2 separate regions of the Homo sapiens genome follow, and region 1 is linked to region 2. Evidence: promoter capture Hi-C in 16 types of primary human blood cells and fetal thymus (Javierre and others, 2016). All regions are on one chromosome and are shown on one strand. Each heading gives the region's core, a stretch centred on a gene start or on the middle of the fragment in contact. The rest is flanking DNA. Distances are from core to core; before and after follow the strand shown.

Evidence for each region. Contacts are between HindIII fragments. The CHiCAGO score rates a contact against its expected background, and 5 or more counts as called.
Region 1: a contact is called between a fragment that was not itself captured here and the fragment with the promoter of ARL8A in region 2, in 4 of 17 cell types (naive CD8 T cells, fetal thymus, naive CD4 T cells and 1 more). The highest score is 7.3, in naive CD8 T cells.

The regions. Positions count from the first base shown.
Region 1 is chr1:202,335,958-202,341,335 of GRCh38, forward strand. The region is part of intron 1 of UBE2T (ubiquitin conjugating enzyme E2 T); the gene reads right to left. Among named protein-coding and RNA genes, the nearest start is that of UBE2T, 3.3 kb to the right of the region's middle. RefSeq lists enhancers at 584-1,108, 1,109-1,632, 5,049-5,378. The HindIII fragment of the contact is 850 bases long and covers 2,153-3,002 here.
Region 2 is chr1:202,140,287-202,146,957 of GRCh38, forward strand. It overlaps ARL8A (ARF like GTPase 8A), which reads right to left and starts at 4,451. Exons shown (of 7, transcript NM_138795.4): 1 at 4,164-4,451. The coding sequence starts at 4,286. RefSeq lists silencers at 3,392-3,441, 3,942-4,651. The HindIII fragment of the contact is 25,746 bases long and covers 1-6,671 here.

The sequences.
Region 1 (5,378 bases), core at 1,328-3,827, 190 kb after region 2:
CTGGAGGGCAGTGACACCATCTCAGCTCACTGCAATTTCCACCTTCTGGGTTTGAGCAATTCTCATGCCTCAGCCTCCAGAGTAGCTGGGATTACAGGCGTGCACCACCATGCCCAGCTCATTTTAGTATTTTTAGTAGAGACAGGGTTTCGCCATGTTGGCCAGGCTGGTCTCAAATGCCTGACCTCAGGTGATCCGCCTGCCTTGGCCTCCCAAAGTGCTGGGATTACAGGCGTGAGCCAATGCACCCAGCTTTTTTTTTTTTTTTTTTTTTTTTTTTTAGAGGCAGGGTCTTGCTCTGTCACCCAGGCTGGAGTGCAGTGGCACAATCTCAGCTCACTGCAATCTCCACCTGCTGGGCTTAAGTGATCCTCCCATCTCAGCCGCCTATGTAGCTGGAAGTACAGGTGTGTGCCACCACGCCAGTCCAAGATTCCTCTTATTAATCTCTATTCTGACAAGGGAATCTGAGTTTTTCCACTCCCTTCTTGTGAACGTTTATCTATACAAGCAAATATATTTTTAAAATAAAGAACTAAAAATGCAAAAAGTTCTACAAAAAATAAAAACACTAAAGGTTTTAAATAATGGGTGTTTCCACTGATAAATTATAAACTCATGAGGCCAGGCCTGGGTCTGATTTTGCTTACTATTGTAGCCTTAGCATGCCTGTCATAGTAAGGGATTTGACAAATATTTGCTGTTGTGAGGAAGTCTACATATGCTTTGTGAGAGCAAGAATGGTAGAGATAGTCAACATTCTCAGGTACAAACAAATGTTAAATGTCCGAGTTTCTCTCCATGTGCTATGGATTCCACCTTCTCCCAATCTTCAGGGATACCATTCCATCAATTATTCCATCTTTCTTACCCTCAATGTTCAAATATGCTCAAAGTCTCTCTCACCTAAAACCAACACCTACACACATATTCACCCAACACTCTTCTCAACTCTAGTTCTCTCTTTACTAACCAAGCAAAGGACACTAATCCCTTTTGTTTTTTAGACGGAGTCTCGGTCTGTTGCCCAGGCTGGAGTGCAGTGGTGCGATCTCGGCTCACTGCAACCTCAGCCTTCCGGGTTCAAGCAATTCTCTGCCTCAGCCTCCCGAGCAGCTGGCATTACAGACGCCCGCCACCACGCCCGGCTACTTTTTGTATTTTTAGTAGAGATGGGGTTTCACCATCTTGGCCAGGCTGGTCTTGAACTCCTGACCTCGTGATCCACCCACCTCAGCCTCCCAAAGTGCTAGGATTACAGGCGTGAGCCACCGCGCCCAGCCAACACCAATCCTTTAATGTGTTACAAATATCCCCCAGTTTGTGCTTATCTTTCCATGTTGTACATGGTGTCTTTCAATAAACACATACTCTTAACATAATCAATCTTAAAATCTCTTTCTTTACATTTATACTTTGTGTATTAAATTTTTCCTTACCCCCAAATGTAGAGATATTCCTACATAGCCTTCAAATATTTTATAATTTTGCTATTCAAATTTAAATATTGAATCCACTAGGAATTGAATTTTATGTATAGTGAGTGAGGTGGGGGTCCAATTTAAAGTTTTTCCCCATATGAATAGTCAATTGTTCTAACATCATTTACTGAATCAGTCCATCCTTTCCCTGCTGATATTACTATAAATTAAATTTCTATATGTGTGGATTTGTTTTGGGACTCTTGAATTTGTTCCACTGGTCAAGTGGATTATTTCTGAGACAATACTCCACTGTTTGAATTACTATAGCTTATTCATTTTTTATTATTTAAATTTTTTCCCAGCTTTACTGAGGTATAACTGGCAAATACAAATTGTATATATTTAAGGTGTACAATGTGATGTTTTACTATAGCTTATCCACCTGGTCTTTTTCTTCAGGAATGACTTGATTATTCTTGACTCTTTGCTCTTCCATATAAATTTGAGAATCAGTTCATAAGTCCATAAATATATACATAAATATGTATATCTGAAATTATAATCCAAATCATAACAGGGTTCTGTGGTTTGGATTGTAATTTTATTGATGCTATAGATCAATTTGGAGATAACTGATATCTTTATGATATTGAATCCTAAGATCCATGAACACGCTGTTTCAGTCTTTTTTTTGATGCTTTCCAAAGGTTTTATAATTTTCTCTATAAAGCTTTATCTAATTTTTGTTAGACTGATTTCTAAGTATTTATATTTTTGCTATCTTTTCAAAAACACTATTTTCTACCCATTTCTTACTGATACATGTAAATCTAATTGATTTTTTTTTATTTTTTTGAGATGGAGTTTTGCTCTTGTTGCCCAGGCTGGAGTGCAATGGTGTGCTCTTGGCTCACCGCAATCTCCACCTCCTGGGTTCAAGCGATTCTCCTGTCTCAGCCTCCTGAGTAGCTGGCGTTACAGGCATGCACCATTAGGCCCAGGTAATATTGTATTTTTTTAGTAAAGACAGGGTTTCTCCATGTTAGTGAGGCTGGTCTCGAACCACGGACCTCAGGTAATCCACCCATCTCAGCCTCTCAAAGTGCTGGGATTACAGGCATGAGCCACCTCGCCCAGCCAATCTAACTGATTTTTAACCAAAGCCTTAGTAATGCTAATGATGAATCTATTTGGGGTGGGGAGCAGTCTGGGAATGGTAATTCCACACTGCCAATCATGTCATCCACATATAATCAAGTTTATTTCTTCCCTTCTAATTCTTTTCCTGCCTTCTATTCTGACAGTAACTTCTAGTACAATGTTAAATGAAAAAGCTGATAGCTGGGCCAAGCATGCTGGCATGAGCCTGTAATCCCAGCTACTCAGGAGGCTAAGGTGGGAGGATGACCTGAGCCCGGGGAGACTGAGGCTGTAGTGAGCCATGATTGTGCCACTGCACTCCAGCCTGGGAGGCAGAGTGAGACCCTGTCTAAACAACAGCCAAAAAAAAAAAAGAAAAAAGAAAGAAAGAAAAGCTGATAGTTGGCATTCTTGTCAGATTTCTAACCTTAAAGGGAAAGCTTTTAACACTATGCTAATCAGTAAGACTGGCCTATAACTGTCCTTTCTAATTTTGTCTTTATTAGCTATCAAGGTTATGCTAGCCTCCTAAAATGAGTTAGGGAGTATTGCCTCCTTTTTTTTTTTTTTTTTTTTTTTAACATATTGTGGATTAGTCCAAGAGATAATTTGTTACTAGGTTGTCTGGAATAACTCCATCTGATCCTGGTGTTTTCATTTTGAGAAAATTTTAACCTACAAATCCAATTTACTTGAATCTTATTCAAGTTATTTATTCTTGCATCAATTTTGGCAAGTTAAATTTTTCCACAAATTTATCTATTACATGCAATTTTCAATTTATTTGTATAATGTTTTATCTTTTTAATCTGTAGTTATCTATGGTTATGTTTCCATTTTCATTTCTAACACTGTTTATCTGTGCCATCTTTTCTTTGATCAGTCTTGCTGGGCATGTATCAACCAAAAGGAAGTTCAAGTTTTGGTTCCACTGGAAAGAATAAAAATTTATGACAAAAATAGAAAATGAGAAAAAATACTTTTTTCTTAAAAATAAAGATTTTTTGCTGGAAGTGTTTTGTACTTCAAGATCACGCCACTGCACCCCAGCCTGGGCGATAGATTAGGACTCTGTCTCAAAAAAAAAAAAAAAAAAAAAAACATCTTCGTCCAAACACGTACTATACATTTTTTCTTGTCATTATTCCCTAAACAATACAGTGTAACAACAATTTACTTAGCATTTTATTAGGTATTATAAGTAATCAAGAAATAATTCAAAGTATATGGGGGTGGGGCTGGGCACGGTGGCTCACACCTGTAATTGCAGCACTTTGGGAGATCAAGGCAGAAGGATCACTTGAGGCCAGGGGTTCAAGACCAGCCTGTGCAACAAAGGAGAACCCCATCTCTAAAATAAATAAAGTATATGGGAGGACATGCAGAGGTTCAAGACCAGCTTGTGAGGCCTGGCACAGTGGCTCACGCCTGTAATCCCAGCACTTTGGGAGGCTGAGGCAGGTGGATCACTTGAGATCGGGAGTTCCAGACCAGCCTGGCCAACATGGGGAAATCCCCTCTCTACTAAAAATATAAAAATTAGCCAGCTGCGGGGGTGGAGGCCTGTAATCCCAGCTACTCAGGAGGCTGAGGCAGGAGAAAGGCTTGAACTCAGAAGGTGGAGGTTACAGTGGGCTGAGATCGCGCCACTGTACTCCAGCCTGGGCGACAGAGCAAGACTCTGTCTCAAAAACAAAACAAAACAAAACTGGCCAGGCATGGTGGCTCACACCTGTAATCCCAGCACTTTGGTAGGCCAAGGTGGGTGGGTCATTTGAGGTCAGGAGTTTGAGACCAGCCTGGCCAACATGAGGAAACCCCATCTCTATTAAAAATACAAAAATTAGCAAAGTGTGGTGGTGCACGCCTGTAATCCCAGCTACTTGGAAGGCTGAGGCAGGAGAATGGCTTCAACCAGGAAGGCGGAGGTTGCAGTGAGCCAAGATCGCGCCACTGCACTCCAGCCTGGGTGGCAGAGCGAGACCCTTTCTTAAAAAAAAAAAAAAGAAAAAAAGAACCAGCCTGTGCAACAAAGGATATCCCCATCTCTTAAATATAAAGTATATGGGAGGACATGCATAGGTTATATGCAAATACTACACCATTTTATATCTGGGACTTGACCTTTGGTGGATTTGGGATCTGCAGGATGTCCTGGAACCATCCCTCATGGATACAGAGGGTTGACTGTACAGTAAAAGTATCACAAGTATAAAGTATACCTTTATATAAAATGAGAACAGTGGAAAGCCATGGTAAAAGGATTAGAACAAGCAAGACAATTTCTCCCAAGGAAGCAACCAGACTCCAGCCTCACTATGTTAACCAAAATTGGCATATGCCATTCTTTGGCTCAAATGCCATGAATAACTGCCTATTTTTCAGGGTATAAAGGTTCTTTACAATCTAACCCTTATATCCCGCCTTATATCCAGTATCTACTCTCCACAAACTCATGCTTCAGCCACACTGCACTATTCCTGCTGCCCATAAAAGTTTTATTCTTTCACACCTTTAGATATTAAAGGTTACATATTAAATCACAACTCCTTCTCCAGTAATGCCTCCCCACCACTCACACCTTTCCAACGTCACCCTCTGTGCGTCTACATCTATTTGCATCGTGTTCTAATTCACCTGACAGTTTCTTCTCCTTAGGAGGAATTCCTTGACAGCAGGTCCCTAGTCTTTTTTTGTATCAAGTCTGCAGTAAATTTGGATAATTAATGAACGAAACGTGGGTTTGGACCAGATGTTGAAGAAGACAAAAGAACAGGCCGGGCGCGGTGGCTCACGCCTGTAATCCCAGCACTT
Region 2 (6,671 bases), core at 3,201-5,700:
GCCTAGCTAATTTTTTTTTTTTTTTTTTGTATTTTTAGTAGATTCGGGGTTTCACCATGTTGGCCAGGATGGTTTCGATCTCCTGACCTCGTGATCCGCCCACCTCGGCCTCCCAAAGTGCTGGGATTACAGGCGTGAGCCACCGCGCCCAGCCCAATTCCCTTTTATCTGCAGGAACCACCTATTCATCAGGGCCTTAGGATGATATAAGAACTGAGTACCCAGGACTGACACCCAATGACAAGGTCCAGCAGCGGTTTCCAACCTGAGGTCCACAGTTGGGCTTCAGAGATCCCCTGAACCCCCTGAAACTGTACACAATCTGTGTGTGTGCAAAGTTTTGTTTGTGTGTACATTTTTCTGGAGAAAGGGTCTCTCACTTCTTTCAGATATCAAAAAGTTCTGAGAGCCCCCAAAGTTAGGAACCACTGAGGAAGAGGGAATGGCTTCTTCTAGCTAAGCAGGGAGAATTAAGTGTGCTGTAATTACCCAAACCCCGGCAGCCTGCTGCAGTCTACCCCATCCCCAACAATAGAGTCTGAGGAAGGAGGCCCAGTTCTTGTTTGTCTCTCATCCCAGGGGGTGCTTGGATAAGAAACTTGAACTTCTCTGGACCTCAGTGTTTCTGAATGTAAAACTGGGGAGAAGGGTTTCGGTCTCCTAGGAACTGTAAATAAGACTCACAACATGCTTGGAAATGGTTTCGATATAGCATGGGGAACCATCACTGCTCTTTGGCAACTAGAAGATCCACAGGCTACCAAGTAAATGAGAAGCCCAGCCTGGCAGAATGTGACCTTGGCAGAGGGGGATGCTGGGAGGACCTTCAAGGAGCCAGGCTCCCCGGCACCAGTAGGTCTTGTTCAGCTGTGAATCGGAGCTAAGGTGGAATCAGATTATGACTTAATTTCCCTGCTAATGCCTCCCTGTCTCATAGGCTCCTCATTTAAGGTTGGAAGTAACCTGAAGTCATGCAGCCCAACCTCTTGTCTCAGACTTCAGTCCCTTCTGCCCCATCCCCTCTTGGGTCAGTTCCAACTATCAGAAAGTTCTTTATATTGAGTTAACAATCCGGCCGGACATGGTGGCTCATACCTGTAATCCCAGCACTTTGGGAGGCTGAGGCAGGCAGATCACCTGAGGTCAGGGGTTCGAGACCAGCCTGGCCAACATGACGAAACCCCATCTCTACTAAAAATACAAAAATTAGCCAGGCATGGTGGTGTATGCCTGTAATCCCAGCTACTCGGGAGACTGAGGCAGGAGAATTGCTTGAGCCTGGGAGGCGGAGGTTGCAGTGAGCCGAGACTGTACCACTGCACTCCCAGCCTGGGTGATAGAGCAACACTCTGTCTCAAAAAAAAAAAAGAAAAAAGAAAAAAAAGAAAAAAAAATCTATCATTCCTAGAATGTCCACCCATTGTTCCTAAGTCCCCTTGGGCACTCCAAGACTAGTTATTCCATAGGACAGTCTTTGACACTTTTAAATATTTGAAAATGACCCTGTTGTTTCCTAGGACAAAACATCTCCCACTTTTCTAGCATCACAACTTTTTCAGAACTCAAAGGATGTTTTAGGTTCCTTTTTTTTTTTTGAGACGGAGTTTCGCTCTTGTTGCCCAGGCTGGAGTGCAGTGGCGGCACGATCTTAACTCACTGCAGCCTCCGCCTCCTGGGTTCAAGCAATTCTCTTGCCTCAGCCTCCCAAGTAGCTGGGATTACAGGTGGCCACCACCATGCCTGGCTAATTTTTGTATTTTTAGTAGAGATGGGGTTTCACCATGTTGGCCAGGCTGGTCTCGAACTCCTAGCCTCAGGTGAAACCCCCACTTTGGCCTCCCAATTGCTGGGATTACAGGCGTGAGCCACCATGCCCGGCTGATGTTTCAGGTTCTTAGAAGCAGTGTATATAATTTCTTTCCAGCTCACATTAACCTGCTGAGCAGCTAGACACACTAAACTCAATTTCTATTTACAGCCAGACCTCATAGGGTGAGTAGAAAAAACCCAATGGCGAAAGATCTGAGACAAACAGAGGCCAAATGAACAGGCACAGGTAATTCAGAAATTCAGTGGTAGGCATGGGAACAGAGCCCAGGGGTCCCAACTCTTCGTTTCTTTCTGGAAGACACTCAACTGTGATTATACACGGGGTGGGCAGCAATGCCAGTGTGGTAGCCCCAGAGGATCTGAAAACACTGGAGTGACCGGGACACTGGAATTCCAACTGCAGCCCACATGGGGTGGTTTTCCTTGGGAAGCCTCTCTAAAGAAGGGAATTTAGCTTGCCTGCTCTTTTAGAATGTGCCAGCGGAAGTGGCAAATTTAAGATTAAAAAGGGGACCTTGTGGGCTGGAGATGGGGTGCTTTTCCTGTATATCACAGGAACTCTTGACCCTGGCAGGGGAATTTGGGACTCTTGGGTTCTGTTTCTGGCCTGCTATAGTCTCCAACTCTCTGGATATGATGCTGGTCTAGAGGGGGCCCTCCTGTCAAAGGCTCAACTGCAGACCCAGAAACCGAACCCACCCGGGTACCTGTGGATCCCTGTCCCAGAGCACAGCTATAGTAACACCCTGGGGAACGAGGAGATACCTAGGCCCAGCTGCATTTCTCAGACCTAAACGCCTAGAACCCAAGCCACCTAGGCCTGCAGAGTCAGGTCAGAGTCCAGGTGTTATGTGCCTGCTCTGGGAATCCAAGAGCCTAAGTCAATGCCAAGTTTAACCAGAGGGTCTCTGACCCCAAGGGCAGAGCCTAGGCAGACAGAGCCCAGGGGTGTTAGCTCCGAAAATTACTGTGCCAAAACCGCAGCATTGGCCTGAAGATCCTGCCCTGTCAGGTCAGGAGACAGGAGACACTGGGTCGAGAAAGGGCAGAGGTCATTTGCAGAGCATGTTTGGGAAAGGAAGCCAGTGTTCAATTGTGTAACCACAGGATGCCCGCCCCTCGAGCTTTCCATCTGCCTTCATGCCTCAGGTCCAATGAAGTGACGTCCCCTGCCTTCTAGGACGCTGAGAACTGTCGAGGAGGCCCATCTTCTGCAAGGTGGGGCAACAACACGGACAGGTAGAGGTACCTAGGCCGGCTGGATACATTCCTCTGCTGACCTATCTCATCAGTATCTTTGGTTACTATCTGGCCAACTCACAGTTGTGGGAAACCTCAGCTTTGGGACTGGGGCCAGGTCCCTGGACAACCCCAGCCCCTGTCCCATGCTTCCTCGACCCACAAGCCCTGTCTAGCCTGGCTCTGACAGGCAGGCCGCAGCCATTACGGCAGCCTCAGCTCACACCCATGGAGCTCATCTTCCCCTTTTTTGAGAGAGATTTTAACTCCTTCCCCACCACTCCCCTGGCGCTGAAAGACTTACAATCACCCACTTCAGTGTTGACGACCCAAAGCCCTTAGAGCCACTCTCCCAAGGCCCCAGTGGGCCGTGCCCCTACACCTCATCCTCTCTTGTCGGGAGCACCTGCTCCTGCAAACTTCTGAGCCAGACGGAGTCTCCAAACTCCCGTTACCATGCGATCCTCCCTGGACCCCCGGCTAGACACTGCGGGTCGGGGAGAAGTTGGGGAGGAGTCTGGGCTTGAGCCAAGGGCCTCAGCTGACTCCTCTACCCCGGGGGATACCTCCCCTCCCCCTCAATAGGGCCGGGGCTTCCTCTTCCGGCAAGGAGGGGTTAAGCCCTCTGGGTGGGGCTGGGCTTGCCCAAACCCCCTCCTCAAGCCTCTCGGCCGCCCCGTCCCGTGACCCTCTACCCGCGGGACAGGAAGGCCCGTGCACTTTCGCCCCGTCATGCCCCCTTGCGCGGGGGCCAGAGGGGGCCCGTCTCAGCCGGCAGCGGGTCCCTCCTGCTTCGAGAGCCCCTCGGTGCCGCCTGCCCCGTGGCACCGGCCCTGTCTGTTCGTCCCCCTTCCCCTGCCCCCAGCCGTGCAGTACCGGCCCGGGTGAGAGAGCGGGTCGCGCGCCGCCCCGGTCCCCCACGGCACGGGCCGTACTAGGCCCCAAGCGCTCGGGGCCGGCTCCTCCCCCGCCCGGCGCCCGGCCGTGCCCGGCTATGCCAGGCGGCGACCCCGGCTCAGCAGGGCGCGGCGCGGGCGGGGACAGGCCCGACCCGCGGCCCGCGCCCGGGGACCCCGCGCCCGACGCCCTCGTACCGCGATCACGTTGACGAAGGTGGTCTTGCCCGAGTACTGAAGCCCGACCAGCGTGAGCTCCATCTCCTCCTTCCAGAATAGGGCCTTGAACCAGTCCAGCAGCTTGTTGAACAAAGCGATCATGGTCGCTGCCGCCGGCCCCGCCCGGTGCCAGGTCCCCGCCGCCCCTCGCTGCCCTCGCGCTGCGGCCCGGAGCGGCCCCTCCCCGGTACGGCCCGGGTCCCGCGGCTCGGTGCGGGCGGAGGCTCGAGCGCGGCTGCCGACGACTCGCTGCCCCGGAATCGGCTCGCCGATGGGTGTGGCTTCCGCGCCCTCCTCCTCCGCCGCCGCCGCCGCCCTCCCTCGCGGCCGGGCCGTGTCCTGCTCGCACCCGAGCGCGCGCTCCTCCCTCGCTGGAGCCGGGGGGCCAGGGGCCGCACCCGCAGGTGGGGTGAGCAGGGAATCCGCAGGTGGGGTGAGCAGGGAATCCGCAGGCTTCAGCGGCGGGGGTTGACCGGCAGCTGGCGTCGAGAGGCGCTTGGGAAATGGGGTCTAATTTATTTTAGACCCTGTCCCCGACTGCCGCGCCCTGACTGGCACCCCCTTTCTTAAAGGGTGGTGGGCTCGAGGTGGGTGAGGTTCCGGTTAAGCAGGAGCCTTTTCAGGTTGAAGGAGAGTGGGTCACCCACTTCCCAGGACACGGAGATGAGATCTCTACGACAGGGAGGCAGATGGAGGCTTTTTTGTCCCTGAACCCTTGCCTCTGAGCATTCCTGGGTACAGTCCCATCCTCTCAAAATGCACCCAGTGCAGAGGGACAACCGTATTCGGGTCTTTTAATACTCCATCTTGTTTTGTTCACCACAATTTACCCCGACCACTTGTTAGGAAGCCTCTGGCCCCAAGTGAAACGGACGCTTGAACTTGCTCCGGATTTTTACCAGCATCCCCAAGATACCCAAACAGATACAGTCCTGGCAGGGGGTTTTCAGTGAGGAACGTCTGTGACAAAGGAAAATGTTGCCCTGTTTTGGTGAAAAGCAGAGTATTCTTCAGGAGGAGAAGTGATAGTTCTCCTCTTGAAGTGGGTCTGGAGTGCCTGCAAAGATGCCTTACTCCTGCCCCTCTCCTTGCAAGACCCACCCATAGGACCTGCTCAGGCAGGCTGACAACCTCAGCTGGCAGTCCCGGGTAGGCTCAGGCTTCGGGCAGTCCCCAGCCTATGCTGGCTGCCCGTTGGGGTTTGGTTTTCAAATGTAGTCATATGTAGTCTATTGTTTTAGTCAAAAGTGGGTAAACTATCAATATCAACCATATCTGTCCAATCAACTGGAGTTAGATGACCCCAAATAGTCAAACAGTTACCAAAGTAGAAGAATCACAAGGTTTCGGCTAGCATAATATTGTTTTTTTTTTTTTTTTTGATGGGGTCTCACTGTGTGGCCCAGGCTGGAGTGCAGCGGTGGGATCTCGACTCACTGCAGCCTCCACCTCCTCGGGCTCAGGTGATTCTTCTACCTCAGCCTCCCGAGTAGCTGGGACTACAGGCATGCGCCACCATGCCAGCCTAATTTTTGTATATTTGGTAGAGACGGGGTTTTGCCATGTTGTCCAGGCTGGTCTCGAAGCCCTGAGCTCAAGCCATCTGCCTGCCTCAGCCTCCCAAAGTGCTGGGATTACAGGCATGAGCCTGGCCAATATTCTGGTTTATTAAGCACCATCTTTCTAACCTCTGCCCTTTATAAGTCCTCCTCTAGCTCCTAAGATAAAGGCTATGGACTGAATGTTTGTGTCCCCCCAAATTCATAGGTTGAAGTCCTAATCCCTAAAGTGATGGTATTAGGAGGTGATTAAGTCATGAGGGTAGAGCCTTATAAAGGGGGCCGGTGGGATTAGGGGGAAGAATACCAGCCCACAACCTTTTCACCATGCAAGGACAGAAAGAAGGCTCTGCCTAATAGCCAGACACTGAGTCTGCAAGGGTCTTGATCCTAGACTTCCCAGCTTCCAGAACTGTGAGCAACACATTTCTTTTTTTCTTTTTTCTTTTTTTTTTGAGATGGAGTCTTGCTCTGTCATCCAGGCTGGAGTGCAGTGGCATGATAGCTCACTGCACCCTCCACCTCCAGGGTTCAAACAATTCTTCTGCCTCAGCCTCCCGAATAGCTGACTACAGGTGTGTGCTACCACGTCCGGCTAATTTTTTGTATTTTTAGTAGAGACAGCGTTTCACTGTGTTAGCTGGATCTCCTGACCTCGTGATCCGCCTGCCTCGGCCTCCCAAAGTGCTGGGATTACAGGCATGAGCCACCACGCCAGGCCAGCAATACATTTCTGTTGTTTAGAAGCCACATGGTTTACGGTAGTGTGAATTGTTACAGCTGCCTGGGTAGGCTATGAGGGTCCACCCTGTCTCACTTCCTAAATTGACTTTGGTTTCACCTTACTTTATGTCCTTGGAAGTGCTAGAAAAGTGCATATCCCAAGGGCAAAGATTTGCAGCCTGCCTGTCCCTGGTCTGCAGTCTTT